Linked DNA regions of Homo sapiens: all the other regions are linked to region 2. Evidence: promoter capture Hi-C in 16 types of primary human blood cells and fetal thymus (Javierre and others, 2016). All regions are on one chromosome and are shown on one strand. The core of a region is centred on a gene start or on the middle of the fragment in contact, and the rest is flanking DNA. Distances in the headings are between cores, read along the strand shown. Region 1 overlaps ENAH (ENAH actin regulator). Region 2 holds the start of PYCR2 (pyrroline-5-carboxylate reductase 2). Region 3 overlaps ENAH (ENAH actin regulator). Region 4 overlaps ENAH (ENAH actin regulator). Region 5 overlaps LINC02765 (long intergenic non-protein coding RNA 2765). Region 6 overlaps LBR (lamin B receptor). Region 7 overlaps ENAH (ENAH actin regulator).

The links. Contacts are between HindIII fragments. The CHiCAGO score rates a contact against its expected background, and 5 or more counts as called.
Region 1: a fragment that was not itself captured here is called in contact with the fragment with the promoter of PYCR2 in region 2 in 1 of 17 cell types (naive CD8 T cells); the score reaches 7.0 in naive CD8 T cells.
Region 3: a fragment that was not itself captured here is called in contact with the fragment with the promoter of PYCR2 in region 2 in 6 of 17 cell types (neutrophils, naive CD8 T cells, total CD8 T cells and 3 more); the score reaches 7.8 in neutrophils.
Region 4: a contact is called between a fragment that was not itself captured here and the fragment with the promoter of PYCR2 in region 2, in 12 of 17 cell types (total CD8 T cells, total B cells, naive CD8 T cells and 9 more). The highest score is 15.1, in total CD8 T cells.
Region 5: a fragment that was not itself captured here is called in contact with the fragment with the promoter of PYCR2 in region 2 in 12 of 17 cell types (naive B cells, naive CD8 T cells, total B cells and 9 more); the score reaches 8.6 in naive B cells.
Region 6: a contact is called between a fragment that was not itself captured here and the fragment with the promoter of PYCR2 in region 2, in 6 of 17 cell types (naive CD8 T cells, neutrophils, total CD4 T cells and 3 more). The highest score is 9.0, in naive CD8 T cells.
Region 7: a contact is called between a fragment that was not itself captured here and the fragment with the promoter of PYCR2 in region 2, in 13 of 17 cell types (total CD8 T cells, total CD4 T cells, total B cells and 10 more). The highest score is 12.3, in total CD8 T cells.

The regions. Positions count from the first base shown.
Region 1 is chr1:225,570,384-225,574,693 of GRCh38, forward strand. All of the region lies in intron 1 of ENAH (ENAH actin regulator), which reads right to left. Among named protein-coding and RNA genes, the nearest start is that of ENAH, 81 kb to the right of the region's middle. The HindIII fragment of the contact is 4,198 bases long and covers 652-4,310 here.
Region 2 is chr1:225,921,909-225,926,056 of GRCh38, forward strand. PYCR2 (pyrroline-5-carboxylate reductase 2) reads right to left here and starts at 2,342. Exons shown (of 7, transcript NM_013328.4): 1 at 2,136-2,342; 2 at 1,793-1,863; 3 at 296-475; 4 at 1-171. The coding sequence starts at 2,202. It overlaps MIR6741 (microRNA 6741), which reads right to left and starts at 234; the gene lies at 172-234. RefSeq lists silencers at 1,939-2,068, 2,379-2,468, 2,609-2,688 and an enhancer at 2,239-2,888. The HindIII fragment of the contact is 26,114 bases long and covers 685-4,148 here.
Region 3 is chr1:225,491,245-225,495,226 of GRCh38, forward strand. ENAH (ENAH actin regulator) reads right to left here. Exons shown (of 14, transcript NM_018212.6): 14 at 1-3,982. Among named protein-coding and RNA genes, the nearest start is that of LINC02765, 25 kb to the left of the region's middle. The HindIII fragment of the contact is 3,735 bases long and covers 797-3,982 here.
Region 4 is chr1:225,528,427-225,532,801 of GRCh38, forward strand. ENAH (ENAH actin regulator) reads right to left here. Exons shown (of 14, transcript NM_018212.6): 4 at 2,128-2,212. Among named protein-coding and RNA genes, the nearest start is that of LINC02765, 63 kb to the left of the region's middle. The HindIII fragment of the contact is 169 bases long and covers 2,350-2,518 here.
Region 5 is chr1:225,446,342-225,450,158 of GRCh38, forward strand. It overlaps LINC02765 (long intergenic non-protein coding RNA 2765), which reads right to left. Exons shown (of 3, transcript NR_187303.1): 3 at 1,663-2,244. Among named protein-coding and RNA genes, the nearest start is that of LINC02765, 20 kb to the right of the region's middle. RefSeq lists enhancers at 1-370, 371-931, 932-1,491. The HindIII fragment of the contact is 3,451 bases long and covers 75-3,525 here.
Region 6 is chr1:225,419,856-225,423,619 of GRCh38, forward strand. It overlaps LBR (lamin B receptor), which reads right to left. Exons shown (of 14, transcript NM_002296.4): 3 at 2,222-2,422. Among named protein-coding and RNA genes, the nearest start is that of LBR, 6.3 kb to the right of the region's middle. The HindIII fragment of the contact is 1,082 bases long and covers 710-1,791 here.
Region 7 is chr1:225,510,706-225,514,690 of GRCh38, forward strand. ENAH (ENAH actin regulator) reads right to left here. Exons shown (of 14, transcript NM_018212.6): 7 at 3,891-3,985; 8 at 2,166-2,311; 9 at 1,952-2,009; 10 at 1,106-1,154. Among named protein-coding and RNA genes, the nearest start is that of LINC02765, 45 kb to the left of the region's middle. The HindIII fragment of the contact is 516 bases long and covers 2,437-2,952 here.

The DNA of each region.
Region 1 (4,310 bases), core at 1,501-4,000, 350 kb before region 2:
ATGGATTTTTTTTTTCCAGTGTTTTTCAGTATTTTTTCCAGTGTTACACTGGAAAAACTGTGCCTGCCTCCCCTTCCACCTCCTTCTCCTCTCCCACCTTACCCTTCCTAAGACAGCAAGGCCAAGCCCTCCTCTTTCCTGCCCCTCCTCAGCCTGCTCAACATGAAGACAAGGATGAAGATCTCTATAATGATCCATGTCCATTTCATGAATAGTAAATATATTTTCTCCTTCTTGTGATTTTTTAATGTTTTTTTAAATAACATTTTCTTTTCTCTAGATTAAGAATATGGGCCAGGCGTGGTGGCTCACACCTGTAATCCTAGCACTTTGGGAGGCCGAGGCGGGCAGATCACCTAAGGTGAGGAGTTGGGAGACCAGCCTGACCAACATGGAGAAACCCTGTCTCTACTAAAAATGCAAAAAAAAATTAGCCAGGTCTGGTGGCGAGCACCTGTAATCCCAGCTACTCGGGAGGCTGAGGTAGGAGAATCGCTTGAACCTGGGAGGCAGAGGTTATGGTGAGCTGAGATCGCGCCATGACACTCCAGCCTAGGCAAGAAGAGCGAAACTCCGTCTCAAAAAGAATATGGTATAAAATACACATAACATAACAAAACGTGTTGATCAACTGTTTATGGATATCTATAAAGCTTCTACTCAACAGTAAACTATTATTAGTTAAGTTATGGGGGATTCAAAAGTTGCACTTGGGCCAGGCACAGTGGCTCGTGCCTGTAAACTCAGCACTTTGGGAGGCCAAGGCAGGCAGATCATTTGAGGTCAGGAGACCAGCCTGGCCAACATAGTGAAACTGCATCTCTACTAAAGATACAAAAATTAGCCAGGCATGGTGACGTGCACCTGTGGTCCCAGCTACTCGAGTGGCTGAAGCACAAGAATCGCTTGAACCCAGGAGATGGAGGTTGCAGTGAGCCGAGATCATGCCACTACACTCCAGCCTGGGCGACAGAGTGAGACTCTGTCTCAAAAAAAAAGAAAAAAAAGAAAGAAAAACAAAAGAAAAGTTGCACTTGGGGGCCAGAGTCCCTAACCTCCTCCACCCCTCTACTCACCTTTTATAACTCTACTGTTCAAGGGTCAACTGTATTTGGCCTGGGGTCCTGGGTACAGGGCTCCTCAAAGTGTCTTTGGTATACTAATGAGATGATTCTTGGCTGAAGGGGCTTCTAGATGGCTTCAGATGGGGCCAAGTGGCCGGAAATATCATGGCATGACTGGAAGGCTGGAACTCAGGCCCACACTTCCCACCTCATTACTGCCCCCCGCCAACAACTGGGGAAGGGAGACGGACTAGAGATCGAGTTCAATCACAATGGCCAATGATTTCATCGATCATGCTTATGTAATGAAACTTCCATAAAAACCCTGAATGACAGGGTCAGAGGGCTTCCAGGTTGATCAACATATGAAGGTGCTGGGAGAGTCGCACTTGGAAAGGGCAGGAAAAGACTCAACCCCCGCACCCTCACACCTTACCCTATGCCTCTCTTCCATTTGGCTATTCCTAAATTATATCCTTTATAATAAATGGGTAATAGTGAAGCGCTTTCCTGAGTTTTGGGAATCATTCTAGCAAATTATCAAATGTGGGTTGGGTGGTTTCAGGAACCTCAGTATTTGCAGTTGGCTAAGCAGATGTGGGTAGCCTGGGCACTCCATTTGCAGCTGGTATCTGAAGTAGGAGCAGCCTTATGGAACTGAGCCCTTAACCTATGGGGTCTACGTTAACTCTGCACAGTGTCAGAGTGAACTGAATTATTGGACACCCAGCTGGTGAAATCTCGAGAAGAGACTGTTGAAGTAAGGAAAAAAGCTACTCACATACTAACTCCGATTACAGGTGTGATGCACAAAATAAATTGGTGGTAAGCAGTTTTAGACTTCATGGAGCCATGAACATCAAAAGCAGACTAGATAAATCAATACAGAACTGGCTGCCAATATTTTGCCCTACTTGACAGGTATGCGATGGGGCGGTGGTGGGGACAAACATAACTTATTTAAAATGATATTTCTGGAATCTAAAAATAGGAATATTTCAAAACAAAGACAAATCATTAAATGCAATAACTTGAGCTTTCTAGACAATTCCCTCTATTATCTGCAGATTTTGTTTTCTCCCCGTTTCTCCCTGGTCCAGTGAAATGCTTAGCCAAGGGCCTGCTTTAAAATATGGCTGGCCTCAGCCACAAGAGACAGTATTGCTGCATGGACACTGGTGAACAAATACTAGAGCAATGCATCATTTTACTACCATCCTATCTGCATCATGACAAGCCTCAAAATGAATGCCCAGTCAAAGTCTTCAAGATTCTGAGTCAGTGAAGCGACTACGCAAAAGATTAAATTAGTAAATTACCAAGCTGTACTTTTGTGAAGATCAGGCACTAAATTAGTTATAAACAAAAACTTCATTTTTATGACCCAGTGCAATTGGTATATATAGTTAATTATACTTCATCTTCTGATGTTAATTTTGGTATTTTAAAATAAAATATGGCATTAAAAGGCTAGAGATAGCTGGTTTAAAAGAAGGGAAAAAAGGTCTAAAAACCAAGACACCAAATTACAATTTTGTAGTTTTGTCAGGTAGTTCATTTCTGAATATTGTCAAATTGACTGAGCAGGTATATGTGATGAGAACGCTTGCCAAGTTCTATTCTCACAGGTACCAGTGAATGAAGCGCTTCCTGGTATTTAAGCAGACTAAGGATTGCTAGGCTAGTCTTGTATATACTATTTATTGAGATTGCAGTAAAACCAAGTTGTTAACAAATATCAATTTCTTTTCAAAGATATCACTTATTAATCATTACTTGTCAAAGAAAGCATGAATATGACAATATGTAGCACACAGTAGGCACTCTTTAAATGCTTTTTCAGCACTTACTGTAATCTAACAAAATCCTACTCATCAAGACCTGGATCAAATACTATTCCTCTTATTAATTCTCTCTGTGGTTCCCAAAGCCAGAACTAATTGCTCCTTCCTCCGAGTTCTCAGAGTATTCATTAATCTCTCAACAAACAAGACTCTCTGAGGAGGCAATATTTAAGCCATGGGAAAGACTTGAGTTTTACTCCAAGTGTATACTGGGAAGCCACTGAAGGGCTTTAAGCAGAACACGGCCTACATTTTAAAGATAACTGTAGCTACTATGTAGAGAAAAAATTCAAGAAAGTGGCAGCAAAATCAAGAACAGAAGCACAAATACCAGACGAGAAAAAAAGGAGGGAGAGGAAAGCACTGGGGATGTATGTTGCAAGTACAGAAGAAAGGATCTGTAGATAGACAGGATGCAAAAGAGGAGGCAATCAAAAGGAGGAAAAAAATTATGGATGCACCTAGCATTTTAATGATACTCCCAGTTAGTATGTGATATGCTGTAAAGTATTAAAATGTACCACCACTGAAAGTCATGGCCCAACTCACTTATTCAGAAACATGTCTTCATCATCTTTGAAAATGGAAAATATGTCATCCCTTCTTGAATCCCCTATGTGCAGCACAGAGCCTAGTCTGTAGTGAGTTATCAACATGTGCACAATAACCTCTACTATACTATCAGCCTCTTAAGAGAATATATCCTAAAGAAAGAGAATTAGCATCACGTCTGTTATGATACTGAGTCATTCTATGAACTAAGATGTCATTTATTCAGAAGATAAAATACTAAGAAATAACACTAAAAACTTTGGAATTTTAAATTCAGGATTTCCATCTTATTCTCTGATATCAATTTATTGGGCTATGTCTACAATATTATGACATTTCAAAGATTAAAGAGGCTCAGAGTAAACACAATTGTGTTAGGTTTCAACTCGATTCCACAAATATTGTTCACATTTATAACACAGGTCCTGGCATATAGTAAAAGTGGGCGAGACCAGCTCAGTTATATAAGATTGTGGGCCAGGCGCGGTGGCTCACACCTGTAATCCCAGCACATTGAGAGGCTGAGGTGAGTGGATCACCTGAGGTCAGGAGTTCGAGACCAGCCTGGCCAACATGGCAAAATCCCATCTCTACTAAAAATACCAAAAATTAGCCAGGCATGGTGCCTCGTGCCTGTAGTCCCAGCTACTTGGGAGGCTGAGACATGAGATTCGCTTGAACCTGGGAGGCAGAGGTTGCCGTGAGCCAACAGTACGCCACTGCACTCCAGCCTGGGTGACAAAGTGAGACTCTGTCTCCAAAATATATAAAAAAAAGGCCGGGCGCGGTGGCTCACGCCTGTAATCCCAGCACTTTGGGAGGCCGAGGCGGGCGGATCACGAGGTCAGGA
Region 2 (4,148 bases), core at 1,092-3,591:
TTCCACCTCAGTGCAGAAGCCCACGCTGCTCATGAGCTGCTCCAGGAGCTGCCCATCCTCCACCAGGGCATGGGTGCCCGTGGCGTACACTGTAGCGCCTTCCTGCACTACCACAGGTGTGTTGGTCATGCAGCGAATCACTTTGGGGGCTGGCTGGAATGCCATCAGCTTCTAGGGTGAGGGAGAGAGCCGAATGAGTGGCCAGGGCACGGCTCCCACCAGCACCCACCCATTAGCTGCCATTCGTGGGTCAACCCTCCCCTCACACAAGGGGCATCAGGGCTGAGATGGGCACCTTCTCCACAGAGCTGATGGTGACACCAGCCGCACAGGAGACCACGATGTGTCTGGCTTGCACGTCGGCCCCAATCTCATCCAGGATGAAGGGGATGATATGTGGCTTCACAGCCAGAAACAGGACGTCGCTGTGCTTCACCGTCTCCTTGTTGCTGCGTGTCAGGTTCACACCCATCTTCTGCAAGAGGAGACTCCCAGCTCACAGTGCTGGAGCAGCCTGGCTATGCCAAGGCCTCCCAGGGAGCAGCTGAACCCCTGCCAAACCGATTCTGCCAGATGCAGCCTGGAATTCTTAGCTTTATGCCCTCAGGGTTCTACCCCTACCCCAAATAATACAGTTTCCCATTGTTGCTACTGGACAAGTAAGCACAGGCTTGGAGCATGACAAGCTTCTCCATGGTAACCAGGAAGTGGCTGCCCTTCTTCCCTGCCAATCTTCTGGTATCTAAGGCACTCCTCTGCCAGGTAAGAAGGCCCTATGGTGAAAGTGGCAGGGCAAAGGGAAATGCTAATACCTGGTCGTTAAAAGCACAGCTGAGTCAGGCCCTATCCTAACCCTGGCCGCTTGTTCGTGGGGACCGCACAGTCTCCATGTGGTCCAGGGCTAGGCTGGAAGCCATCCATCCCTCTATGACTCCAAACTGAGAAGCAGGACCCTCCAGTGCTAGGGACATCAGCCCACCCTAGGCACAGACACTGCCTGTCACCTGCCTCATCAGCCATCCTCTCCCACAGAGCACAGGTTTTGGGTGAAGACTTGGAATATGTTTTTGGAGAACAGAACAACTAACTCACCAGATTCTTCCCAATATGCTCATTCACGACTCAGAATAACAGCAAAGTGGCCACTGTTGTAAATGAGGAAATAGCCTCAAAGTGGCTGAGTACTTTAAGGTCATACAACTCGTCTATTAAGAAAAATGGCTGAGCGCAGTGGCTCACCCCTGTAATCCCAGCACTTTGGGAGGCCAAGGCGGGCAGATCACTTGAGGCCAGGAGTTCGAGACCAGCCTGGCCAACAGTATTCTCTACCAAAAATACAAAAATTAGCTGCGCGTGGTGGATGCCTGTAATTCCAGCTACTCGGGAGGCTGAGGTGGGAGGCTGAGGTGGGAGGCGGAGGTTACAGTGAGCTGAGATCGCGCCACTGCACTCCAGCTTGGGCGACAGAGTAAGACCCTGTCTGAAAAAAAATTTAAAAAATGAGTATTTATTAGGTACCTACTATGTGCCAGGTGCTTTCATCACATAATCACCTCAGTTAATCCTCTACCACTCCAGTGTCTGGATCTGACCCCCAGTTATGTCTCCCTGGGTGTTCCCACCACATTGAGCTGCCCAAGAGAAGGTGGAAAGATTGTCACGTTCCTGGAGTAAAGGTCACCGCCGGCCAAAGACCAGCACTTGGGCGCAGGGGCCGGCCAGACTCACTTCATCTCAGGTCATCCTTTTCCTGGGCCTCCACCCGCTTCCCACTCCGCCCGGCTCCACCTACCCTGAGCGCGGACACCGTGGGCAGGTTCATTTCTGGGGAGCTGGCTATTATCTTGTGAGCCGACAGGATGCCTGCAGAAGACAGAGCTTTTCAACTAGGGGTCGCGGCCCAGCCCGTTACCACGCTTTCCCTGGCTCTAAAACCCAGAGCCGTCCTAACAGTGCCAGTCTCCCTCTCCCCCTCAACCCTCTACGAGGACAGAAGACGCACTTGCTGCTCAACCAGAGTCTCATCTACCCCACCGGACGCAAACTCCCCTTTCATTCGCTCATGCTGGTGGGACGGAGGCCCCCTCGGGCCTCGGGACCGCCCGCGAAGCCGCCTCCCGCCTCCACGCGCTTGCCTGCGGCCGTGAAGCCCCGCGCCAGAGCATAGGCCAGCTGGCCGGCCCCGATGAAGCCCACGCTCATGGTCCGCGGTTCACGCCTCCTGGGAGCCGCACGAACCCCCTCAGCGAGGGACCGGAAGTAACGCTAGGGGAAGGGCGGACAGCGCAGGGGCGAACGGGCGGCGTGCCGAGGACCGGCGAGCTAACAGCAGCTTCTGGGATGGTGCAACCCTATTCTCCCCCGGCGGATATCTCCCGGGCGGCTGATGGCGCCTTAGGCCACGTGGCCCCGCCCCGTCCGGGCGACCAATCAGTGGCCAGGATCTCGGGGCAGGCCAATCCGCGGCCCGAGCCAGGCCGCGTGCCCGCCTCCTCCGCTCGCGACTGGAGGGCGGAACTCCGGGCTGGAGTCCCGGAAGCCCCTGTGGCAGCTTGGCGTGAGCTCCAGGCGCCCGCCGGCCCAGGACGCCCGGCCGCCCCCACCCCCCCCCCCCACCCCAAGGCTGAGGTCGCCGTCCCTAAGCCACCTCGGGCTCAGGGCTGAGGCCTGGCCCAGGCCTGGCTAATATTATTTCTGGCGCTGGCCATCAGATGCCCCTCAAGGCCCACAGGAATTCTCCAGGTTGCCGATTTGCGGGGATGAACGAGGCCCTCCTGGCGTAGGTTCAGACCAGGTGGCGGCGAGGTTCAGACCAGGTGGCGGCGAGGCGGCACCAGGGTGGTCAGCCGCGGCTTATTCACTTGAACTTGAGTGTTTCTCGCGAATTTGTCCAAACTAGATACAAGAAGGACAAGTTCGAGTCTCCGACTCTTCCGCGATCCCGCACCCCCCAGCCCCTTGCTGTCACTTGCCTTTTTTTTTTTGAGACGGAGTTTCACTCTTGTTGCCCAGGATGGAGTGCAGTGGCACGATCTCGGCTCACTGCAATCTCCGCCTCCCGGGTTCAAGCGATTCTCCTGCCTCAGCCTCCCCAGTAGCTGGGATTACAGGCGCCCGCTACCACGACCGGATAATTTTTGTATTTTTAGTAGAGACGGGGTTTCACCATGTTGTTCAGGCTGGTCTTCAACTCCTGACATCAGGTTATCCGCCCGCCTCGGCCTCCCAAAGTGCTGGGATTATAAGCGTGAGCCACCGCGCCCGACCTGTCTCTTGCTTTTAAAAGCTCCACCAATGTGATGTTTCCTTTTCTATCAGTAGTAAATATAAGGGGCCGCAGGGAACAAATGACAGAAGTAGAGAGGAAGAAGGTGGCGTTCCTAGAGGACTCAGAAGAGCTGAGGACCCTTAGTTCCCATGGTCTCTCTGCTAGCTTTTCTAGTCCTTTCCGTGTAATGCACACCCCCACTCCCAGGCAAGGGGCTGCTTTCTGTGAACTTCCCTGAGCAAGTCCCCAGGCCCTCAGTTTGTGCACCCTTTAAAGTGAGGACCAAATATAATATTTACTATTAAGCAAAATAATGCTATGTTTTATTTATTTATTTATTTATTTATTTATTGAGACAGAGTTTCGCTCTTGTTGCCCAGGCTGGAGTGCAATGGCACGATCTCGGCTCACTGCAACCTCCACCTCCCGGGTTCAAGCGATTCTCCTGCTTCAGCCTCCTGAGTAGCTGGGATTACAGGCATGCGCCACCACGCCCGGCTAATTTTTTGTATTTTTAGTAGAGACAGGGTTTCTCCATGTTGGTCAGGCTGATCTTGAACTCCCGACCTGAGGTGATCTGCCTGTCTCAGCCTCCCAAAGTGCTGGGATTACAGGCGTGAGCCACAGCACCTGGCCTCTGTATTTTTTAAATTCGAAAAGTAATACAGACATATTGAAGAAAGTTTGGAGATAAAAGTAAAAATAAAATCATCCACATCATACTTCCCAAAGATAGTTTCTTACAAACATTTTTGGTGTATTTCCTTACACTATCATGTCCTATGCATATCTACTTTCTCCATCATTGGAAATAAATGATGTACATGTAGTTTTGAAATTTCTCTAGTAGACATGAGCATTTTCCAATGTCACTGAAAAG
Region 3 (3,982 bases), core at 1,414-3,913, 430 kb before region 2:
ACTCTTCTGTCTCAGCCTCCCGAAGAGCTGGGATTACAGGTGCCCACCACTATGCCCAGCCAATTTTTTTGTATTTTTAGTAGAGATGGGGTTTCATCATGTTGGCCAGGCTGGTCTCAAACTCCTGACCTCAGGTGATCTGCCCACCTCAGCCTCCCAAAGTGCTGGGATTACAGGCGTGAGCCACCATGCCCGGCCATGAAACATTTATTTTTAAAATGCCTTTAATCTTTAAAAAAAAAAATAAAAGAAAAAGAAAAAAAGAAAAGAGGTTTCACAGATGTGACTAAAGCATGGACTGTTAGGCGCTTAAGAGACCAAATTTTTAAAAGCGTTCTGTAATGTATCTCTCTTATATGGTTGCAACAATGTGTATTTTAAGTGTAAGCCAAGAACCTTTTCTCTCAGTTTCTATAGACTTGGATGGAAACTTTTGGACTTGATGGGAAAATTAACTCTCAATCTAAACACTAGCCAATGTAGACTTTTTCTTCTGAGTGCTTTTTCCTATGGAATTCAAAGTACCAACTATTCAATTCTCGATTTTCTAAGCCTTCTTAGAAGAATAACTATTTACTAAAACCCAACCAAACCAACCTATAACATCATCCATCTCCTTTATTAGTTATTTCTTTATGCTTTTAGAATTGTCATCTACTGCTGAAGAAATCTTTCTTGGAATTGAAGGGAACAGTTAAATCAGATTTACATGATAAACTATGGGTTGTCATTTGTATATAGAACTTTTACGGAATAAATGTAGTCTAACAAACTGGGCTCTCTAATGAAATATGTAAGCTTTTCTAATAATTTCTATGAAAAGCTATATTCTCTTAGAATTTTTTTTTTTTTTTTTTAGAGACAGGTTCTCGCTCTGTCACCCAGGCTGGAGTACAGTGGCATGATAACGGCTCACTGCAGCCGCGTCCTCCCTGGGCTCAGGTGATCCTCCCGCTTCAGTCTCCTGAGTAGCTGGGATTACAGGTGTGCACCACCATGCCTGGCCTAAATTTTTAAATTTTTTTGTAGAAATGAGTCTCCCTGTTACCCAGGCTGATCTCAAAACTTCTGGCCTCAAGCAATCCTCCCGCCTCTGACCAGTTTACCGAGCTATTTAGATGTCCTAACTACTAGGAATTATATGTCTTTAAAAACTGAGGAAAAAGAACAGCACTACTCAAATGGTATATTCTTTTTACTCTCAGCCACCAACTGGGGCCCCTAATTTTCTCCCTCTGCCTAGAATTCCTGTGTCCTACACCAGAAGCGTCTACGGGCCCTGCTCTCTGCTCTTTATGAGTATTTAACATGCTTCACAGAACGGGGGTGCAGCTCAGTGACTGTGATTCTTTGGTTCAAACACTTAATTGGGGCTTCATCTTTGATTTTTTCTGCATGTTAATCTGCAAATACTCAAGGCCTACTATGTGCTTTAAATGATACTAACACTTCCGTTTAGAAGGTTGTGTGCATCACAGAGTATCTGTAACGGGGACAGTCCTATTTCCCTTTCTCAATTTTCAGATGTATCGATTCCTTCAGATTTCAACAGAAATAACCAATAAATGTGGCAGACATTCTTACAACATCCTAAGTCATTATGACAGTCATTTATCCTTTTACAATGTTTCTGTTACTTTATAAAGAAAACTATTTAGAAAGACAAATTTAGTTAATTCTTTAGCAGTTGTCAAATGTGTCTCCTCACCAAAAGATTTTACTCTTATGTGACTTGACCATTAGTATTCCACAAATAATTTATCCTAGAACTCCATTTATTTATGTTGATGGTGAGTATCTGTAACCATCCTAAATTTACTGCATTAATATTTTACTTTTCTTTCTAATCAATTTTAGGTTTTAATTTGAAGGTTTCATCTTTCCAGTATTGATATTTTAAAAAATCTTGATGTCTCAAAAATTATCGAGAGATAACATAAAGGGGAACACACCAAATAATCCACAGCTTTTGATGTTGGGAACAGAAAAACCTGCATCACAGACCTCCAACAGTTCTTGGCTTCTATAAACGGACTTTCTTGAGGGGTTACTGACTTCAGCTGCTTAGTCAAATCTACAAATCCTCAAAAGAAAACTCTTCTTTAAGTAATTGTCCTCTACTATGTCTTTACATAGCCAAAGCTACCTACATCAATTTCATTCCTTCAGAGTCATGGAGATTCCTTATAAATACCTGTATGTCAAGTTTTGACTTTAAAAATATTAAATGGCTTTTAGTGAAAAGGCAGAGGTATTAAACATCAGTAATTTCAATATACTAGGATCCTTTTCTCATTCCTTAGAGCTTTGGAGAGATGTACAGATATGAACTCATCTTTCTATTAAAAACAAAAGTGGTGCTACCAGAAAAAGGTTTGGAGTTTGGAAGTGAATGAGAGTAAATGTCTTCAGGAAAGTGAATTTTATGATAGCTACATAAAGGAATTAAGAGCTCCTGCAGAGTTCCTTTGCGATGTTTGCTTTATATAGTTACTTTTACGCTGCTTATAATCGGTAGAATTTAAAGGGTAATGGTGTTATAAAATTATAATGGCCACACAGGAATTAAAGAGACCTTGTAGCATACCTTTGCACACTGTGCTTCATAGGGTAATACTACTTAGAATTAAAAGGCCAATTCTTCACAATGGCACTGAAAGTATATATAAATTTACAAGAGACATAAAAGTTGTAGCTAGGTAAATTTAAAAGATTATCATGTTACTTAACTCATTTTTGAATGACAAGTGACTTTTAATTTGTAGACAAAAATACTGACTTACATATGAAGAGAAGCAAGAACATGAGACAGGCTAGAGCAAAAAAAAAAAAAAAAAAACAGCTGAAAATTTTACAACTGTAACTCTGTAATGGCTGCAAATGTTAATGAATATTGGGAACACGCGGTCCACGAGAAGTGGAGAGGAGAATGGAGGGGGGAAGGGGAAAATTTGGGTCTGGTCAAAGAAAAAATACAAGGATTGTATTTTTGTATTTCTAATGAAGACATCAGAATTATAAAATGGAACTCAAAATTAATACTTTATAATAGAGAAAAAGTACTACTGCTTATATGTAGGTTTTAAGAAATCAGCATCATGTATAAACACTATACATATTTTGCTATACTTAAAATTCATTACTCAATAATGCCCTTTACCACACAATGTCCTTTACCATGCAAACTACATAAAGGATAATTCTAACTGCATGAATGAGTTTTAAGTACCTGAACGTGTTGCAGAACAAAATGGAATAAAAATTAAACACTTAATCATCATCTTGACTATAAGAGGAAGTTACTGTGTCAAGGTGGGCAGAGAGAAAATAAGAAGAGGGAACACCCAACAGTTATTTCAAACAAAAAGTAGACACATCATCACATATTTCTTTTGTATACATTACTTAGTATTCACGACTTCTATGAAATCTGTAAAGAATAGTGACGTGACATGTAAACTTTTAAGTAGTAAAGTCTTGGACTTTAAAAGGTGTTTTTCACATCCAATATAACTTACTTTAAAACAAATTATTTCAGAAGATTATCTAAGTGTCACAAACAAGCAACATATATATACTGCAATTTTATTTCAATCGCACAAACGAAGTTAGCGTGTAGGAAACTTAAATGAAACAAATTTAAACGAAATAGTTACGGTAAAAATAGCAGAAAACTGAAAATTCTAAAAAGGAAGTACACCTAAAAGCATGAGAATTCAACATTCATTAGTGTTTCATCTTCAGTTTTGATTGACACTTGATGCTTGCAAATTTTTAAACAAACTTTTAAATCATGATGACTATTCTGAAGAGATTTCAGCACCAGCACTAAGATTTGTACATTCAGTTTGTTTGCAATTGACTTGTGAGCCATTTACATAGTGGATAGTACAGACTTGTCACAGGTCAGATCACAGTGTTGAGGAAAGCAGTGCCTTCCTGTCATTAGAAAGGATCCCCTAAACTGTACTCAGCTTAAGAC
Region 4 (4,375 bases), core at 1,184-3,683, 390 kb before region 2:
TGGGGTGAGTTCCTAAATGCCAGGCCAAAGAAGTAAACTGATGTGAGGAGAGGCAGCCATAAGGAATGCTGAGCAGGGAGATGACAAGACAGGAGTGTCTGGACTCTTATTCGGGTTGGTAGATTGAGGAGTCCTGTAATCTTCCCCAAAATTCTACTAAAATTCCAGAAACATCATTAAAATGCATATAAATAAACCCATGACCAAGTAGAAAACTGAAGGTGGTGGTCATTAGTAGGGCAAATTTATCATGAGATTTCCGGAAGACAGAAAGGGTAGGAGTTATATGTTTAGAATTCTTCCTTAGTCTCCTAGAGACTAATATTCAACATCTCTACTTACATGTCCAGTAAAAATCTCAACCAAACATCCTCAAAATTCATTTTTGACATCCCCCAACAAGACCTGCTCTACGCAGTCTTTCACAACTATTGATGGCAACTCCATCCTTCCCACTAGCTTAGCCTAAAAACCTCAACCCCTCTCCTTCCCTCATCCCCACCATACAATCCACCAAGACATATAAGGATCTGACTTCTCAACAACCACTTCTATCACCTGGGGGAAGCCACCATTATCTCCTGCCTAGTTCACTGCAACAGCCTCTTAACTGGCTTTCTTGTTGAGCTGCTGTCACAACACTGCACCTGCCTCAAGTCGTCTCTCAATAGTGTAGGCTCAACAGAGCAGACTGACTGATTCTGCTAAAATTTTAAGTCAGATCATGCCTATGTTCAAAACTGTACAATGGTTCTCCTTTCTCTCAGAGTAAAGGTTAAATTCTTCACAGTAGCCTGCAAGGTCCTGCATGATCTGACCTCTACTCCTAATACTCTCTTGTGCTCCAGCCTCCACGGCCTCCTTGTTTTCCCATGTACACACAAGCATCATCCTTCCTTAAGGCCTCTGCACAGAATGCACTTACATAGGTATCTGCTTGGTTAATTCCTTCTTTTCATCTCAATGAGATCTACCCTGACCACTCTATTTAAACTCACAAGTACTGAGACTGATAAGTAATGGACGGAAAAATAAAATAAAATTACAACCAGCACTTCCCTCTGCCCCTTCACAACATATAATCCTCCTTACTCTGTTGCATTTTTCCCCATAGCACTTACCATCTTCTACTATACCATGTCATGTTTATTGTCTGATGAGTTTCAGGCTTTTTGTTCCCTCCACTCTCCCCACCCTTCCCAATATAAGTACTTAGAACAAAAAATGCCTGTGACATAAATAAATGGAGCAGTGGAGGCATCCATAACCCAGAACACATACTGAAGACGGTCAAAGCAGACATGGGAAGAGGAATCTGGGAAAGATCTAACCTGAGGTCAGCAGGTAGAGAGAACGGGAATGAGCAGTGCCACAATAATCAAGCTGATTAATAAGTATATACACTGTCTGAAGAACAGCTGTACCAGCTCCTCCCCTGTCCTCCCCAACCCCAGCTCAATGGATGGAATGGCATTTACCACAGAAGACTGTTCTCTAAAGAAACTGAACAAGCTGCCTCAGATGAGTTGGGGCTTCCAGTGGAACTTTTAGTAGCTCAGCGTTTGTGCGGTTCTGAGGCCTGCCTGCTCACCATCCTGGTACTCCAAAGGTTAGCCTGTCAGCCTACGTACTCTGACCACTTTCAGAGAACTCCTAGTCATGGAAGAATGCTGCCCAGTAGAGAATGATTTTGTATTCTACTACTAAACCCTATAGTAATATCTGAAGATCAATGTGTTACAGAAACAGCCAACAATATTTCAACTTTTTAGTTAAATTTGTCACATGAAAATCATAGTACTCACAGATCACTTTATAATTACAAAAGTAAGACTTCTTGAACCATAAGAAGATTTTGAATTCTGTTAAGCGTATTTACAATATTTTAAACATACCTTAAGTATAATTTTTACAAAAAAAAACACATATGAAATTTTATAACATCTCATGTCCAGCATAACAAGTATCTGGTAACTTACTAATGACAGTCACAAAACTTACTAATGTAAGAATAAAAGTTGTGACTCTTAAACAGCTGATAAGACATAATCTACTTTAAACACAGGATGTTCAGTTTTGTCTTCTGAAGCATAAAGAAAAAGTACAAACAATAACTTGAAAATTTACCTTCTTTGAATTTCCAATTCTTCTTGGGATGGGCCATTTTGAACTTGAGCAGGTAGTTGTGAGTTTTGTCTAGGCAATGTTGGCCCTACAGAGGGAGAAAACATTACAGATGAACATTATTTTCATATCTAGCTGGACAGAGGAGATAAAATCATGAGAATAACATAAAACCATCACATATTTACAAACGTGTCTTCTTTTTGTCTAGCAAAATAAAATATAAGCTTTACATAACACAGAGCAAATGAAAGACTGCAACATAATACTGTCATCATCTCCAGAAGGCTTACTTGAAACAAATGGAAAACATCAACAATAAGGAAAAAGAAACATTTATATATGAAGAGCTTGAGTAAAACAAGTGTTCGATGAGCATCTGAAGAGGCACCTAAGCTTGACAGTTTCTAAGACAATGAGACATTCTCTTTGGGGTAATTATTCATGAAGTGGAGAGGGAGAACTTAAATGAAAAATCAGAATTCAAAAACTCACCTAAATAGAACACTGGAAATGAAAAACAGGAGAGAGAGAGAGCATGAGAACCTTATTACTAGACTCCAGTATGCTAAAGCATTTATCAAATTTGCCCAATTTAAGCTGCCATTTTTGTCTAATAGCCTAGCATTTCCAGCACTGGTGAAAACAAACATTTGCTAAACTTCCATATAGTAATTAACCTACTGAACTGAATTTTTAATGTAACAGGTAATTTTAAGTTTTCATTTAGGGTAAGAAGAAAAAAAAACTTGCATTCATACAACATGGTTCTGTCATGAGACACTAATGACCATCCATTCCCACATATCATGTACAATGCAGACCTGTTTTTTGCATCTTAGATAGAATGCCACTGAATTATGGGACATCTTAATGTCATTGGATATAAAAATCAAATCTGTCACAAAATGAGATAAATACTGGACCTAATATATAATACCTAGGGTTAAAATAGAACAATCTTAAAGTCTAATCCAGTAAACAAGAAAGTAAAGAAACAGTAGTTATCTTCCACTCTTGGAGAAGAATATATGAGTAATGACACACTACATATATTTGTGAATTCTAGTGTACCAGCAAATGCTCCTAACAGATATTCTGAAAGATTTGTAGACAACTTAGGAAAATAAGTTACGAAATAAATGCTTCTGTGCACTAAATTCTTGTAATCTATGGGCTAATTGTGCAAAGTATTTTATACTAGTGGAGTAGATTTCACAACCGGAAGTAAAGATTTATTAGGATGTAATGCAGTACTGGTGTATCCCAAGTGTGGAAAAACAGAATTAATTTGATCTGAACTTACCTACTAACTTTTTTTCTCACCTCTTTACAAATGTTTTTAGATTAATCACTTTATTTGTCCTCTAAAGACAAATTGATGACAACTGCAGTGATATATTTCATTAGATTTCCTAAGAGTCTGCTATTTTGAGAACCAAATAAATATTATAAAAAAAAATTAATCCCATGTAATCAATAACAAAAAAAAACAAAACTTTTGAAATTAAATACACACGTAAATGTTTGTATAAATGAAAATACATGATTGCTGTCTAGTAAACAGACTAGAATTCTTTTCTTGGGAAATTAAAATAATGATGTAAAAACAGACTCTCCTATTAGGCTATACACAAATGTTTAATACTTTACAGAGAAAAGACCTCTCTTCTGGGGACACACAAGTGTGGGGAGGGGCGGGTAAATCTGAGGTAGCATGAAATTATTTAGGGAATGTACTTTATATATCCAAAGTACTAAATGTGAGCATTTAGCATGGGCAACTCACAAGACCATTATGTTTTAACTATTTTTTAAAATAATGTTTACTTGAGTATTTAAGTTGAAAGCCTCAGGCTGCTTAAATAATGAAACAGCTGAATGTGAGTAGGTTAGACCTGTTTGGCATCTACCTCAAAGAAGAATGCAATTATACCAGTCACACACCTAGGACAGGTGTTATATATCAAAGGTAATATTAATGGATTAAATTTGCCAATTAAAATCTCAGTTTTAATTCAAATATATAGATTCAAAAAAGACGTCAAAATTTCAACTCAATCCTATTTATTTTATTTAACAGGTTTTTAAAAAACTAACACAAGTTTAATGTAACTCACAAAAGCTGAGAAAAGAAAATCTTTTAGCAATTTACAGAACCTGCTTTGGAATATTTTTTTAAAGCTTTTTAAAAGCTTACTAAGCAAATCTGTTCAGAAAGGAGATTTTTAAAATGTGGGTAATATTTTGT
Region 5 (3,817 bases), core at 550-3,049, 480 kb before region 2:
AGACATCATTAACTGAGTTTCCCAGCAGCACACCTGCCTGAGGTAGATTACAGTGTGGACTATTCCCTGTGAGAAGCTTCCTGCAGCATAGCGCCAGGGAAGGGCTAACCAAGATCGTGTCTTTGCAAAACACCTTTCAGACTGCAGCACCCCCAGGGTGAACTTCAGAGTCACTTTGATCTCAATTAGCATTCTTGGATATTATAAACAAACACCTAGACTCCCAGGGAGGGGAAAATCAGTACCCCAGGAAAATCACAGGAGATGGAGTTCTCAGGGCTTTATCACAGGCTGGCCATCGAAAGCCACAGGGAGCCCTCAGGCTAGCCAGGGTCACATCTCACCTCTGCCCAGCCACCCCAGGTGTTTCCTAGAAGCCCCCCCTTTTCCCGCTTTGGCCTGCCTGGCTCTTTTTGGCTTCTGAAAACAAAGAGAGGAGCTGTGTGCAGTCAGCCTGAGACACGTGGGAAGATGGTTGCTGCCCCTGCTGGCCCTAAAGCTCCAGAAAGCCAATGCCACCGTGCAGGCGGTGGAGAGCATATTCTGATATGGGAGGAGGAGGCGTCCGCAGACCCCTAGTTCCTAACTTTGGGTCATGGCCAAGGGACCTCCTGGGGAAAACTGCGTGCTAGAGAGCCGGTGAGCATATCTTAAGTTAGGCCCAAAGGGGACTGGGTGGGTTTCTTCCTCCAGCACCCCTGCTCTTCCCAAGAGGAGCCCCTTTCCTTCCCTGAGCTTCCCCTTCCCAGGCTCCTGTTTTGACAGGATGCCTGGGTCTGATCACAGCCACAGGCCCGTTTTGGGCTGTGTTCCCCCTGGAGTGTATTGGCCAAGGAATTCCTGGAGCATTTGAAGAAAGGCCCCTTCCCAGGGGCAGTATTCCTCCTGTAATTAAAAGGTTGCATTTCAAAGACACTTTTAATGACCCCAACCGTTGTTGCCAGAAAGAAAATGCTACAGAAGACGTGACTGACAGATTGCAGGGAGAGTGTTCAGCCCAGTGCTGGTGCAGATCCCCGTGAGGACACAGGAGCAGGGGGTTTTGTCATCTTGAGGACCCATAGCTGACCGATGTTCATGCACGCAGGAGCATGTGTACCAGGCACCGGTCTAGTGGGAGAGTCAGAGGAGGTTGCAGCGGGCACAGAGTGGGCATGCTGTGATGGAGGCCAGGCGCCTGCAGGGGAGGACATCCTTATCTATGGGACCTGGCAGGTAGAGGGGAAGGCACTCCCTAGGGAAGGGCCAGAACAGACCTTAGAAGGGTGTATACTTGGGATTTAGATGAAGGAGAAACCTCCTTTCCTCTCACTTCCCTCTCTCCTTGTTCTTCCCTCCCCGAGGGCCCCTCCTAACCCACTCCACTGCACAGCCTGCAGCTTGGCCAGAGTTCCTTCCCTACCAGGACTCACTGTCTCGCTGGGGCCTTGAACCCTCTCCCCCCACCAAATAAGGTGCTGGTCTGGAGCTGAGCACACACCACAGTGGCCAGTTATGGTCAGTCTGTCACTCTGTTCCTTCTCATCCGAGAACTCAGAAAGCATTCACTGTCACTGGGCTGCGATCCCAGAACAGCCGCTATTCAAAACATCTTTATAAGGTCTGATTCTGCCTCTGCCTCACCCCAGCCCAGCAGAAGTCGACTTGGCTCTGGAAACATGATGGATTTTTATTCAGTGTTTTATTGGCCAAACACATATCTTCGGGATAAGATCTTCGGAAACTCACAGGGTTTGATGGAAATGCTCACAGCCTTCTTCCACACACATCTCTGTCATCGCTGGCTTCTGGACTTTTCGTTACTTTAGCCTGGGATAATATTCATCCTTCACTTCATCTGACCGAGACACAAGGAAAGTTTATACCTCAAACTATGCACGAAGCAGAGGAAGCTCAGTTTCAGGGATCTTTGTGAGGTTGTCCTGGATAAGGGTCCCGTGAGTCTCTCAGAAATTTGTCCTCCCAGAGTCAATTCAACCTGGGGACTTGTCATAGCTCTGTGGCCTCAAAAGCCTCTCATTCCCAGGCACTGTGACGGGAACACTGGGCTATTGTGTGACAGGGCTAGCTAGCGTGTGCACAGCTCTCGGCTGGGATCAGAGAGAAGTTTGCAGGCAGACCCAAGGTTTTAGAATCACAGAAATCTTCACATCTCTTCCCTTCCCAGGACCCTCCATCGTGGCTTCTGGCTGAGATTTTAGGAGAAGGATGCTCAGTCCAGTTGGTTTTCAGGTTGTGTCCACTCTGGTGAGAAAAGAGTCCGGCTTGGTGGGGGTGGGCAAAAGTTAACCCTCTCAGGGTCTGAACTTTGGGGTGGCCTCTGGGTTTCAGCGCCTCCCTCTCATTGAGTCCCAGGCTGCTGACCCCCCTGTCTGGATGTCCTCATGGTGCCTGGGGCATCCTGCCTTGGGTACCCACTATTTCTGCACCCCAAGGGCAAATTCTGTGTCTTACTTGGTGACCCAGGCGCCACCTTCAGAGTAGGAATTCTATAAAGACTCCCATAAAGCTGAATGAGGGAAGGACCCAGCAAAGGGTGGAAAGCTGAGATTGAGGAGCTGTGCTTGGGGAAAACCCCACATAACTGTGTTCTTTTCAGCCTCTCTATTTGCTTGGATCTCAGCTTAACACAATTTTGGGTTTCTTTTTTTTGTTTTGTTTTGTTTTTCTGAGACGGAGTCTTGCTCTGTCGCCCAGGCTGAAGGTCAGTGGCGCCATCTCAGCTCACTGCAACCTCCGCCTTCCAAGTTCAAGTGATTCTCCTGCCTCAGCCTCCCAAGTAGTTGGGACTACAGACGTGTGCCACCACAACTAGCTAATTTTTGTATTTTTAGGAGAGATGGGGTTTCGCCGTGTTGGTCAGGCTGGTCTCGAACTCCTGATCTCAAGTGATCCACCCACCTCGGCCTCCTAAAGTGCTGGGATTACAGGCATGAGCCATTGCACCCAGCCACAATTTGTTATTGAAAAAAAAAAAATTCCCACTCTTCACTACCTCAATTCAATCATAGGGCCACCTGTATCCTCTATGCCACCTCCTAGGCTGGGCATTCACCCGTCGAGCTTACAGGATGAGTCAGAACCCATCCTTGCTCTCCCGGAGCCTGAACTCTAGAGTGGGTTGGGAACAAGGAAAGGCAGGCGCCGACTGCCAACTATACGGGTGCATATCTCAGCGCGGTCACACCCTTCTTGCCCAGACCTGCCTCTGCTCTGTCCTCCTGGCCCCTGAGGAGCACCTGGGGCAGAGGAGGAGCCCCTAGGAACCTTCCATGATAGAGCACAGGAGTCTGCAAGCGGTTGATTTGGTCTCCTCTACCCGGCCCCTCCCTCTCTCTGGACCCTGCAATGTCGAGGTAGAGAGTGTTATTCCCATTTTACAGATGAGGACAATCAGATTCAAATAGGTCAGGTGACATGCCCACAGTCGCACAGTGGGAAGATGGCAGAGCCAGGTCTCTGCCGCCTGGAAGGGAAGCCTGTGCTCTGCTCATTGGAGAGCACTGCCTCCCTCGACCACTGCCAAGCTTTGATGGCAAAGGAGCAACAGAGGTCACGTGTCAGGGATTAGCAAGCAAGGGTGACAGGAGGAGGTGGCATTCCAGAAGGGCCTTGGAGTATGGGCAGGATTTTAGAAGACAGTAGAAAAGATGGGAAGGTTGACGTGGCAGGGGACACAGAGAGAGCCAAGTTGGGGAGGCAGGATGGTGCAGGCCATGCCCCGCAGCAGCTGATGATCCAGGTTACCCAGGGGCAGCCCCTATGCCTCACACCTCCAGACCCCCTCCAAGGCAGAACAAGCTCCTGACACATTTCT
Region 6 (3,764 bases), core at 1-2,500, 500 kb before region 2:
ATGATGGTAAAAACTTACTGTTTTGGAATCAAGCAATAAAACAGATTTTTCACAGCCTTAATTCTGACGAATTTAACCCTCATTTTGTTAAAAATGAAAAGGAATAAAACTGACTAGAATTTCCCAGTCTCTGAAATATTGGATAGATTTCTACATAAAATCTTTCATCTGGCCAGGCACGGTGGCTCACACCTGTAATCCCAGCACTTTGGGAGGCCAAGGCGGGTGGATCACCTGAGGTCAGGAGTTCAAGACCAGCCTGGCCAACATGGTGAAACCCTGTCTCTACTAAAAATACAAAAAAATTAGCCACGCACGGTAGCGGGCACCTGTAATTCCAGCTACTTCGGAAGCTGAGGCAGGAAAATCTCTTGAACCCGGAGACGGAGGTTGCATTGAGCCAAGACCGCGCCATTGCACTCCAGCCTGGGCAACAAGAATGAAACTCCGCCTCAAAAAAAAAAAAAACAACTTTGATCTTTCACGTAATCAGACTGAATGTCATAATTTCATTGATAGATTTTAGGGGTATTTACTATGAAAGGCAGAGAAAGTAAAAATTGGTAAATTAGTTCATTAACTGGATAAAAAACAAAAGACATTCAAAAAGACATTCACTGCTCCAAAATAGCCCATAATGGAAAACTAAGAAATAGTGGGTACTTATGCAACACACAGTAGGCCCAAGGCACTACCAGGTAAGAGGCAAAGCTTCTGTGGTTCTTGTGACACCAGGACTGTAAGATTACACTGTAAAAATATAGCAGTCACTAAATATTAAAAATGAAAGGATAACAAAGTATCACACAGCATCTGTTCCTGGAGTCCCGGGGTGGTAAAGAGAGCCACTAATAGTTAAAATGTTCTAATTCAAAATATAAGTTAGAACAGTAAGTTGAAAATGTCTGACAGCCACATTCTCCAAAAAAAAAAAAAAAAATTATAATACTCAGAATGAGAAACTGAGCATTCATACACTGATACTACTATAAACTTTCTTGATGCAATCTGGCAATATGTATTAAAAGCCTCAAATCTGCACCATACAGCTGACCTAGCAGTTCCACTTGTAAGAATCCATCCTAAGGAAATAATCAGATGTTACATAAAAATACTTGTTTGTAATAGTGAAAATATGGAAGGAAAAACACTAAATGTCTATCATTGACAGAGCTGACTTTAACGATTAAGTTACATGTATACAATTTACCATATATCCATACTATAGAATACAACAACAAAAATGATGTAGAAAAATACACTCTGAAAGGTTATCCCAATATTTTAAAATGTCTTAAAGCTGACTACTGAGCAGTATGTATATAATCCAGTTTTTAAAGTTTATTAAAAGTCTGTTGCCGGGCGCAGTGGCTCACGCCTGTAATCCCAGCACTTTGGGAGGCCGAGGCGGGTGGATCACGAGGTCAGGAAATCGAGACCATCCTGGCTAACACGGTGAAACCCTGTCTCTACTAAAAATACAAAAAATCAGCCAGGCATGGTGGTGGGCGCCTGTAGTCCCAGCTACTCGGTAGGCTGAGGCAGGAGAATGGCGTGAACCCAGGAGGCGGAGCTTGCAGTGAGCTGAGATTGCGCCACTGCGCTCCAGCCTGGGTGACAGAGCAAGACTCTGTCTCAAAGTCTGTGTGCCTTCTATCCAGAAAAGAGGTTAACATTAAGTGAATAGAAGATTACTTTTATTCTTTTTACTTAACATACTTTGTCTTTGGTCTACTATCTAAAATACTATTTGTACAAGATCTACAGGCTCCATGCACCCTGATATTTCAAAGCTTACATCTTGAAAGTAATTCCACTAAAATCATCTTTGAATAGGTAAAGTGATAAAGTATAATGATGCTAAGAGTAAGAATGTTTCCGTAATACAGGTTTGTCTTACCATTTCATACATGATATGAACTTTTATACACTGTAAAAACCTTACGCAGTTCAATCTACAAGCTACATCTATTTCAAATTTGAACGCTGCTTTTTTAAAAACTAAAATATTAAATAGCATTTCTGGTAACTGAAGGACATTCTTTTCCATTGATATTTAAAACTTTCTATTCCAAACATTTGTTTTATATGAAAACTCCCAAAGTCATCAACTTAGATTTGATGTTTCAGTGACATTTTAATATTATTAACTGCAAGTAACTTGAGTAAATATATACATAAAGCGGAAGACAAAAGGCTGTATAAGGATAAACACAAGTACCAGAATCAGCGGAGTCAATTTAACTTCCACTTCCCTCCTTGCTTCCTTAATGTCGGCCTGGTGGGAAGCAGAAGCAGATCGGCGGGCACTTTTAGGTGGTCGACCAGGGGATCGGGAGCGTGACCTTGATCGACTCCCTCGGCGTCTGGAAGGGGAACTGGAAGTTGAGCCACCTTTCCTTTGCCTAAAGGAAGTTAAAGGCTAGAAAGGGGGAAGAAGGCAAAGAGCTTTACCACAAATCATAACACATACAGACAGACCCACACTAGAAGAGGATAACAAAGGCAGGAACTGCTACCATTAACTCTAAAATCAGCACGGGAAATGTTAGGATCTGAGAATGGATCAGATGAAGCCAATGGAAAATGCTTTCATAATGATCCATCTTTCATGAGACAAATGCAGCCTTTCCATTCCTGTTCTTTGAAGGTATTTCCATGAAACGAATGTATCTAAACCAATTAGCTGTACTTATTTCCAACACCATATGCAAGAAGGGTAATAATTAACATGGATTAAAACTGAGACGACAGGACAAAATAAATAAGCACACAGACCAAAAAAAAAAAAACAGTACCACAGTTTCACTCTGAACAAAACACATAAGCAGATCTTGAAAATAAAACATGAGCTTGGATGACTGGGAACTGTTTCACTGTGTCCCCACCTACTCCGAATCTCCTTATGTTGCTTCTAGGGATGTAGACAAATTACGCCCCAGGCCAAGTCCCTCACCCCAATTTTTGTGTGGCCTTCCTACTAAGAATGGCTTTTACATTCTTAAATGATTACAAACAAAATCAAAAGAACAGTATTTCCTGAAGTGTGAAAATTATCCAAAATTCAAATTTCACTGTCCATAAAGTTGTACTGGAACACTGCCATGTCTGCTCCCTTCCATACTGCCTGGAGCCGCTCCCATAAAGTCTAAAATATTTACTTTCTGTGCTTTATTCCTGGTCTAGAGCACTCGAAGTGTCATCCTCAGCCATGGGTCCTAGAAATGCTCGTTACTAATCTGTGCAAGTACCAAAATTGAGAAATAGGTGTATGGAAATGTTTATAGCATTTTGACAAAGTAATCTCATATCTATCGAATCTGATAGTAAAACTGTGAGTCGTCTATTGTGTATGTCTTTATTTTTCTAGTAACTCATTTTTATGGCATTTTATATAAATGTTTGTATACTACGGATCAGATATCTTAAAACCCAGGCCCTCACCAGACAGGTTGAAAAGCCCTGGGCTAGACTCGAATCTAATTAATGTCACTCTCCTGATTAAATCCTTGGTGTTCAGGATGAAGCCCAAACCCTTGGGCATGGAATATAAAAGCCCCCCCAGCCTGGCTCCTGCTTAGCCCTCCCCTACCACCCCCTTCCAGCACTTGGCTGACTGTGTCCCCCAGACCCCTGACTTTGGCATACTGCCCTCTCTGCAGAAACAGCCCCATCAACTGCTGTTTTTCCTGTTTGTTCTCAGCACTTGGCTAGGTGTCACTGCCTCTGAAAGCCTCCCCTGAAGCCCAGGGCTCTTCTCTACC
Region 7 (3,985 bases), core at 1,445-3,944, 410 kb before region 2:
AAAAAAAAAAAAAAAGGAATTCTAGGTGGTGCACTGTGGCTCACGCCTGTAATCCTAGCACTTTGGAAGACTGAGACAGGTGGATCACTTGAGCTCAGGAGTTTGAGACCAGCCTGGGCAACATGGTGAAACCCTGTCTCTACCAAAAATCCAAACAATTAGCCAGGAGTGGTGCCATGTGCCTGTGGCCCCAGCTACTTAGGGGGCTGGGGGGCTAAGGTGGGAGGATCACTTGAGCCCAGGAGGTGGGGGTTGCGGTGAGCCAAGACTGCACCACTGCACTCCAGCCTGGGCAACAGAGCAAGACCCCATCTCAAAAAAATTAAAAAAATGAAAATTAAAAAGGGAACTGTAGATGCAGCTGGTTGTCTTTAAATCAAAACTGTAGGAATATAAGCATTTCTCTATAATGGTTTCTTATGGACCACTCTAGATATTAACTCATCAAGTTTATTTATGTCATTTCATTCCAGAATAGATAAGGAGTTCAATAGATAGTCCAGCCCTTAGTCTTTAATCAAATATGAAGAAATAACATGTGAATATGTAATGAGTTCGTATTCTCATCTTGGATACAGTACTCATCAAGTACTTCTAGTGAAATATACTTTTGTTAATATTCTAGGTGATTTATCAGATGCTCAAGAATTCTCAATGTCAGAAATTTCACTGAATTCAAGAACACTTCCCCAAAATTTTAAGGAGACTTTTTAAGTTTACAAATCAGAAACTTTATTCCCTTAATTATCAATATCACCCAAATGAATGGCTAGGACATCCTTCTCAATTTGAGAATGTTCTGAAGCAGACTGTAGTACTAACTAACATGCTCACTTTATTTTTACCTCTAGAAAAACAATTATGAAAAATACTCTTGTCATCTAATAGTACATTAATATTTTCCTTGTTTTAGTAAGTAACCTCAAGAAAGTAACAGCAGCTTCCAGGAGGAAAAAAGTGAATGCTTTCAGGTGGGAACAAAGAACTCTGGCATTTTAGTGTCCAGTCACTTGGTCCAAATATGGGGAAAGGGGGAATTTTTAACTGGGGAGTATTAATATTTAGAGAAAGTTTATAAAGGTTAAAATATTTATCTTGAACTTACCAGGTGTACTTGTTGAAGAGGCCTTAGAAGTTACAGGCTCTGAATCTTCCTAAATATACAGATATATATTAATATCACATCTACCAGTCCCCTGTTGCTATATACATTTAGTGTTTTACACGAACACTTCTAATATTCTTTCTGCCACTCCCCACTTTCTCTTTCATCGGTCTTCTCTCCCTTTCATTTCAGCTTAGACTTTCTTCTCCTGTCTTCAACCATCTTCCCTTCAACCCTCCCCACAGCTCCTTTCCTCATGTGTTCTCCTTGAGAACTTTCACTAGCCAATGCTACAAAGCCAGACACGAGAGACAGATTTGAGGAATGGCATCTAAGGTGGCCAGATGGAGCAGGGGGAACATATTATTTGTTGCACACCAATATACAGCACAGACAAAGCAGAGTTTGCCCAGCTGAATCAGGGAGGAGGGCATGAAGGTTACACTCTGAAGGGGCACAGCCAATAACCATCAAGCTCCTAAGGGAAACATATGAATTTAGGCGAATTCCTTCCTTTTAAATTAATGCAAGGGAACTGAGATTCTAAGAGATGAAAAAAGTAGTGAAATGTCATTCACTCATTTAAGGAACAGAATTAAACTCCACAGGTTTGAACTTCAATGCTTTTCCCATAATTTCACATATTCAACTCACTTTACTAAGACTGCCATTAAAAATTTATAAATAACAGTCAAAACAAGCCACTTCACATGCATAGTTAAAAATTAGCAAATATAAGTTCAAACTAATTAAGCCCAAATTAAATAAATGCTGACACTATTTCCTGAATGAGCTGTGCCTGAATTCCATATTTTAAGGTATGGTAGACTATCTTTATTAACTTACACCTTTGTCCTCTTTTTGTTCTGTTTCTATTGTTGATCCCTTTTCAGCAATTCTTCTCCTACAAAGAAGGCAAATCCGATTTTTAAAAATATTATCTGATTCAGTATAAAAACCACTTCTCTACGAGGAAAGAAGTGCATCTAGTTAGTTGTATTTGGAATACAATTAAAATCCTCTCAATTCTGGGCATGTCCATTATAATGAAATTCCTTACCTCCTGGCCAGCAGGGCACTCATTTCTTCCATTAAACCACTACCCCCTAAAGGAAGGGGTCCATTTCCACGGCCTGTATCTGTTTTAGATGAGGCGGAGTTCACACCAATAGCATTCCCTCCACTTGGGAAAGAGGTATCCTCCATCTTAATGAGAATATACAGACATAATCAACTCCTATGTTAGACAACCATATTTTTATTAATATATTACATCTAAAACAGAAGGAAACATCAGCATTAATTTTAAAAAACCTAAATATTATTTTTTAAGCTTTAAGAACCAATAGATTCTTAGCATGACTTTATATATCAACAAGAGTTTATCAAAACTACTATCACCAAGAATGCAATGAAACAGTATCATGTATCTCTTCCTGTGCTGCCATGAAAAGGGCATGACTTTGCTCTGATAATATTCCTGCTAAAACAACCCCTGCATAACTAGAATCTAATCTTGAGGAAAAATCAGATAAGCCAAAGTGAAGGATAACAGGCAAAATAATTGTCCTACAGTCTTCAAAAATGCCAGTATTATGAAAGATTGAGGAACTGTCATAAAGTATATCAAAGAGACATTATAACTAAATGCAATAAATGATCTTGCACTAGGAAAAAAACTGTCACTAAAGATGTCATTGGACTATAGATGAAATTTGAATAATACATTTGTAGATTACAGTATTCTATCATGTTAACTTTCCTGATTTTGATAATTATATTACTGGTTATGCAGGTAAATGTCCTTGTTCTTATAAAATTCACACTGAGGTACTTAGGAAAATAGAAGCTTGTGTCTCTGAGTTACTCTCAAATCATTCAAACAAAAGTGCATGTGTAGGCCGGGTGCGATGGCTCACACCTGTAATCCCGGCACTGTGGGAGGCTGAGGCGGGTGGATCACCTGAGGTCAGGATTTCAAGACCAGTCTGGTCAACATCGCGAAACCCTATCTCTACTAAAAATACAAAAATTAGCTAAGCATGGTGGTGGGTGCCTGTAATCCCAGCTACTCAGGAGGCTGAGGCAAAATCGCTTGAACCTGGGAGGTGGAGGTTGCAGTGAGCTGAGATCGCGCCATGGCACTCCAGTCTGGATAACAAGAGTGAAACTCCGTCTCAAGAGAAAAAACAAAAAAAGTGCATGTGTAAAGAAGGAAACATATCCAAAGAAGGAATAAAAAAGCAAATACTGGTAAAATGTTAATGGGTGAATGTAGGTGATGAATTTATAGAAATTATTTATACTATTCTTACAACTTCACTATAAAAATTTAAATTATGTCAATTTTTAATTTTTATTTATTTTATTTTTTGAGACAAAGTCTTACTCTGTCACCCAGGCTAGAGCGCAGTGGCATGATCTCGGCTCACTGCAACCTCCACCTCCCGGGTTCAAGCGATTCTTCTGCCTCAGCCTCCCGAGCAGCTGGGATTATAGGCATGTGTCACACATCTGGCTAAGTTTTGTATTTTTAGTGAGATAGGGTTTTAACATGTTGGCCAGCCTGGTCTCGAACTCCTGACCTCAGGTGATCCGCCCACCCCAGCCTCCCAAAGTGCAGGGATTATACAGGTATGAGCCATTGCGCCAGGGTAAATTATTTCAATTTTTTAAATCAATGAAGTTCATAACATTTCATAAAATTAGAATACAATAAATTCAACATTTTAGATATTTAGGAAGAATAAGACATATTAAAAAAATTTTTCAGAAAGGTATTTACCCGTGACACTTTCCTAAGTTTTGCTCCGGCAATTGCAGCTGCAAGTCCAGTTAAAGGGCGATTGTCTTCTGACATGGATGCCAAAAAGAATCCAG